Regions from separate parts of the Homo sapiens genome. Here region 2 is linked to region 1. The links are contacts of gene promoters, found by promoter capture Hi-C in human tissues and cell types (Jung and others, 2019). All regions are on one chromosome and are shown on one strand. Each heading gives the region's core, a stretch centred on a gene start or on the middle of the fragment in contact. The rest is flanking DNA. Distances are from core to core; before and after follow the strand shown. Region 1 holds the start of STX1A (syntaxin 1A). Region 2 has its middle 13 kb from the start of TMEM270.

Evidence for each region. Contacts are between HindIII fragments. The study calls those that stand out against the background at their distance.
Region 2: a contact is called between a fragment that was not itself captured here and the fragment with the promoter of STX1A in region 1, in 1 of the 25 tissues and cell types used here (lymphoblastoid cells).

What each region holds. Positions count from the first base shown.
Region 1 is chr7:73,718,276-73,720,975 of GRCh38, reverse strand. STX1A (syntaxin 1A) reads left to right here and starts at 1,307. Exons shown (of 10, transcript NM_004603.4): 1 at 1,307-1,374. The coding sequence starts at 1,345. RefSeq lists silencers at 1,192-1,391, 1,452-1,651, 1,662-1,721, 1,832-1,911. The HindIII fragment of the contact is 19,582 bases long and covers 1-1,939 here.
Region 2 is chr7:73,873,036-73,875,735 of GRCh38, reverse strand. No RefSeq gene overlaps it. Among named protein-coding and RNA genes, the nearest start is that of TMEM270, 13 kb to the right of the region's middle. The HindIII fragment of the contact is 7,065 bases long and covers 1-2,700 here.

The sequences.
Region 1 (2,700 bases), core at 58-2,557:
GGCAGGAGAATTGCTTGAACTCGGGAGGTGGAGGTTGCAGTGAGCCAAGATCGTGCTACTGCACTCCAGACTGGGCAACAGAGTGAGACTCCGTCTCAAAAAAAAAAAAAAAAAATAGGCCGGGCACGGTGGCTCACGCCTATAAGCCCAGCACTTTGGGAGGCCGAGGCGGGAGAATCAAGAGGTCAAGAGTTTGAGACCAGCCTGCTCAACATGGTGAAACCCTGTCTCTACTAAAAAATACAAAAAATTAGCCGGGCGTGGTGGTGGGCACCTGTAATCCCAGCTACTTGGGAGGATGAGGCAGGAGACTCGCTTGAACCCAGGAGGCAGAGCTGAGATAGCGCCACTGCACTCCAGCCTGGGCGACAAGAGTGAAACTCCATCTCATAAATAAATAATCAAACAAACAAACAAACATAAAAAGATAGAGGAGTTCCTTCATCCTGCAGGAAAAAGGGGTGGGTCACGCAGCATCAGAGCTGTGAACTGAGAAATCCTAGGGAAAGAAGAGGCCAGTGCCTGAGTCCCTACTGGATGATGGGAGCAAGGGGGAAGGGTGGAGGCTCCCAGACTGGAACTCTCCAGGAGGTTTTTGGCTGGGGAACAGAAGGGAGAGCAGGAGGTCCCAAGGTAATGAAATGAAGGAGGGAGTTACAACCTTCAGCAAATTCTGGGGAAGTGAAGGGATCTGAGGATGAGGACCGGATTCTGGGACAGGGATGCTGAGCTGCTAAGTCGGGAAGAGGCTGGAAGCCAGGCACGGTGGCTCACGCCTGTAATCGCAGAGCTTTGGGAGGAGGGAGGATCGCTTGAGGACAGGAGTTCAAGACCAGCCTGAGTAACATAGCAAGACCCTGTCTCTACAAAATATTTGAAAATTATTCAGGAGTAGTGGCGAGCAACTCTAGTCCCAGCCACCCAGGAGACTGAGGCGGGAGGATTGCCTGAGCTCAGGAGCTCAAGGCTGCAGTGAGCTATGATTGCACCACAGCACTCCAGCCTGGGCGACAGAGCGAGACCCTGTCTCCAAAAATAATAAATAAAAAACGAGACAGGGCTGGGGCAGAGGAGGCAGCAGGGTCTCTGGGGACCCATCCCCGGGAGCGATCACGCGTGCGGAACGTCCAGGACGAGACCCCAGGGCTTCGATCCCCACGGGGCTGCTCGTGCGGGGTGGGGCGGGGTCTGGGCGGGGTCTGGGCGGGGCCCGGGCGGGGTGGGGCGGGGCCGGGGTCCCGGGGGCCGGGGCGGGGCCGGGCTGGCGCTGCGCAGCCGCGGGGCGGCCGTCGCGCATGCGGGGCTCACACGGCTGCAGCCGGCGCCGCTGCCACTCCCGGGAGCATGAAGGACCGAACCCAGGAGCTCCGCACGGTGAGTCCGGCCCCAGCGCGCGGCCGCCCGCCGCCCGCCGCCAGCGCCAACGCGCCGGACACTTCCCGCCCGGCTCCCGCGGCCAGGATGGTGGCCGCTCCTGCGCCCCCAGCCAGGGCTGAAGGGAGCGGGGCGAGCCAGGGACCTCGACCCCCCTCCGGGTTCCGCCCCTCGGACCCACTCGGGGTCAGGCTCGCGTGAGCTCGGCCGCGCTGACACGTGGACGGTCGGCTGGAGTCCGGGGTCCTGGATAAACTTTTCGGGGCCCTCTTGATTTGGGGGGTTCGGAGGGTATGATGGGGTTTTGGTGGCGGGACCTCTTCCCCCTCCCGCAGAGCAGGCCCTTTCTCTGGCCCCCTCACTGCCCCTCATCTCTGACCTCCCGTGCCCCCTCGGTGTAGACAGACGAGGGGACCGCGGTGGGAACCTCCTTGGTGTAGACAGACGAGGGGACCGCGGTGGGCCGGTGCCGGTCCCCTGCGCGGGGCCCCGCTGCGGGGCGCGCTGCGGAAACCTGATCGTCGGGTGGTGGCGGCCTCCTCGGGCCACCCTGGTCACCTGTGGCTCCCATCACCTGTGGCTCCCCCTCTGCTTGGTCGCAGTAGGGATCCACTGCCCGCCCCAGGTATGGGGGGGGGGGCGTCACACCCGCCCCCGGTCCACCTATCCACCTTCGGGCTTTCGGGCAGCACTGGCTGGCGTTTCCAGACCCTTCAGGGTTCCTTGCGACTTGGATCTATTTTTCTACCTGTATCTGGGAAACCCCTGGGGTGTGGCTCCTGGGGCGGGGTTTGGGGGGAGTAGGAGGATGCACAAACGTTCTGAGTCAGAGCCCACCTTCTCCCAGCCCAGAGACCCCTGCAGCCTGCGTGGGTCCCCTTCCCCTGGCCTCTGCCCTTAGGGATGAGGAGCCCAGGAGGATGGTGACCGGGAGTGGAGGACAGCGACGGAAATGAAGCCTCTCTGGGTGTGTCGGGGAGGGGGGGTGGATCAAGGCTCAAGACTAGATTGAGTCTCATCTGGTCATCTGGTCCCCTGGCTGGCCACCTGGCTGGCAGCCCTGCCTGCTGATCCCTGGGAGCACCCCCCACCCCGCTCCCTGGGCTAGGAACTAGAACCCTAAGGTCCCCTCCTATGGAAAATGTCAAGTGTCCTTTGGGCATTTGACCCCACGGCTTGTCTTCTCCACCCAGAGGCTCCCTGAGTTGGAGCCTGTCTGCCCCATTATGTCATGGTTGCCTCCTGGGCATCCTGGAGCCGGGACCTGGGCTCCCCTGCCTTCATGTCCCCCACTTGCTCTGGCACCACGGCCTCCACTTTGCCTCC
Region 2 (2,700 bases), core at 54-2,553, 150 kb before region 1:
TCAGCCAGGCATGGTGGCACGTGCCTGTAATCCCAGCTACTCCGGAGGCTGAGGCAGAAGAATTGCTGGAACCCAGGAGGCAGAGGCTGCAGTAAGCCGAGATCACACCACTTCACTCCAGCCTGGGCAACAGGAGTGAAATTCCATCTCAAAAAAAAAAAAAAAAAGTGTGGAGGTACACAGGCTTTGAAGTCAGACCCTCTGGTTTGAATCCCAGGCAGCACCCTCACCTCAGGGTCAGGTGCTCCCCCAGGAGACTAGGCCACAGTGGGTGGGTCCTCCAAGGTTGACCTCTTGGCCCTCCGCAGCCCCAAATTCCCACCCTTTAAAAGAGCCAGGGGAGGCCGGGCACGGTGGCTCACGCCTGTAATCCCAGCACTTTGGGAGGCCGAGGCAGGTGGATCACGAGGTCAGGAGATCGAGACCATCCTGGCTAACATGGTGAAACCCCATCTCTACTAAAAATACAAAAAAAAAAAAAATTAGCTGGGCATGGTGGCGGGCGCCTGTAGTCCCAGCTACTCGGGAGGCTGAGGCAGGAGAATGGCGTGAACCCAGGAGGCAGAGCTTGCAGTGAGCTGAGATCGCGCCACTGCAGTCCAGCCTGGGCGACAGAGCGAGATTCCCTCTCAAAAAAAAAAAAAAGAAGAGCCAGGGGAACCCAGCTCCCTGGCCACCGGAATCAGATCATGCAAAGCCCATCTTTGTTTGACTTTGGAAGGCTTGACAAGGTGGGACACTGCCCTTCCACACCTGGACACCTCGTCTGACGACCTGGGGGAGATAGGACAGATGATCCTGGTAACTCAGCCAATTCTGCTTCTCCTCCTGGGCACAGCCCAGGGACATCACCTCTGAGGGCCTTAGCGCCATCCCTCTCACTGTCTGGCTCTGTCTACCTCTCTCTGCTCTTTCTGTCTCCCCAACCCCACCCCAGCTTGCAGAGAGGCCGGATGTAGCAGTGGTCCATCCTGGCCAAGGACACAGATTTGGCCAGGCATGGTGGCTCATACCTGCAATCCCAGCACTTTGGGAAGCCAAGGCAGGAGGATCGCTTAACTCCAGGAATTTGAGACCAGCCTGGGCAACATAGTGATACCCCATCTCTTTTTTTTTTTTTTGAGATGGAGTCTCACTCTGTCACCCAGGCTGGAGTGCAGAGGTGTGATCTTGGCTCACTGCAACCTTTGCCTCCCAGGTTCAAGTGATTCTCCTGCCTAAGCCTCCTCAGTAGCTGTCACTACAGGTGCATGCCACCATGCCCAGCTAACTTTTGTATCTTTAGGAGTTGCACCATGTTGCCCAGGCTGGTCTTGAACTCCTGAGCTCAAGCAATCTGCCCGCCTCAGCCTCCCAAAGTGCTAGGATTACAGGCATAAGCCACCACACCCAGCCATGAGACTCCAACTCTAAAAAATATAAATATGTATTTTATATATATATATATATAATATATATATTAGCCAGGTGTGGTAGCTTACACCTGTAGTCCCAGCTACTCAGGAAGCTGAGGCAGGAGGATTGCTTGAGCCCAGGAGTTTGAGGCTGCAGTGAGCTATGATCATGCCACTGCACTCTAGCCTGGGCAACAGAGACCTTGTCTAAAAAAAGGGGGAGGGAGACACAGACTTTGGAGCCAGTCTTCCCGGTTTGCATCCCAGCTCTGCTACCCAATAACCAAGCAGAACTTAAGCCTCAGGTTCCCCATCTGTAAAATGGGTTAAATGGTAACAACAGTGCCTCCCTCCCAGGGAGACTGGAATGAGTTAATACAAGCAAAGCCCTCAGAACAGTATCTGGCCCATAGCGAATATTTAATAAATGCTAGCCCTCGTTATTTTTTATTTGTGTCTTCATCCTGCATGTTTGCTGACTCAAATTTTCCTTGGGTAAGGAGGTGCGGGAGAAGGCATGGGGCTCTGTGGTTTGAATTGCCTGTTGCTCCAGGCCTCCGGGCTGCAGGCTACAATAAAGCACTTCTTTCAATCTGGGCCAATGATGCTTCGATAAAGCTTGACCACAGGATGCAGGATCGCCAGGCTCTGCAAACACAACCCAGGCCTCGGAGGCTGGGCCAGCACCAGAGCTAAGACTGTTCCGGGCAGGCAGGCAGCAAGGTCCCCAGTTCCAGGCCACGGGCTGTGGCCATCCCCTGCTTCCCTCCTCACCCCCCACTCACCCCAACCCTGCACGCCAAATCTCCGGCCTCCACCCCAAGGCTATTCACATCCCCTATCCTAGAAGACTGAGAATCTGGGAAGGCAGCATCGCAGAATCCTTGAATCTTGGAGTTACAAGGCTTTAGCATAGTGCTAGGAGGTTGCCTCACACAGCCTCAGACTCCTTGCAAGAATAACCTCTGCCGGCTGGGTTCGGTGGCTCATGCCTGTAATCCCAGCACTTTGGGAGGTCGAGGCAGGCAGATCACCTGAGGTCAGGAGTTTGAGATCAGCCTGGCCAACATGGTGAAACCCCACCTCTACTAAAAATACAAAAAATTAGCCGGGTGTGGTGGTGCGTGCCTGTAATCCCAGCTACTCTGGAGGCTGAGGCAGTAGAATTGGTTGAACCTGGGAGGCAGAGGCTGCAGTGAGCTGAGATCACGCCATTGCACTCCAGCCTGGGCGACAAGAGTGAGACTCCATCTAAGAAAAGAAAGAAAGAAAGAAAGAAAGAAAGAGAGAAAGAAAGAAAGAAAGA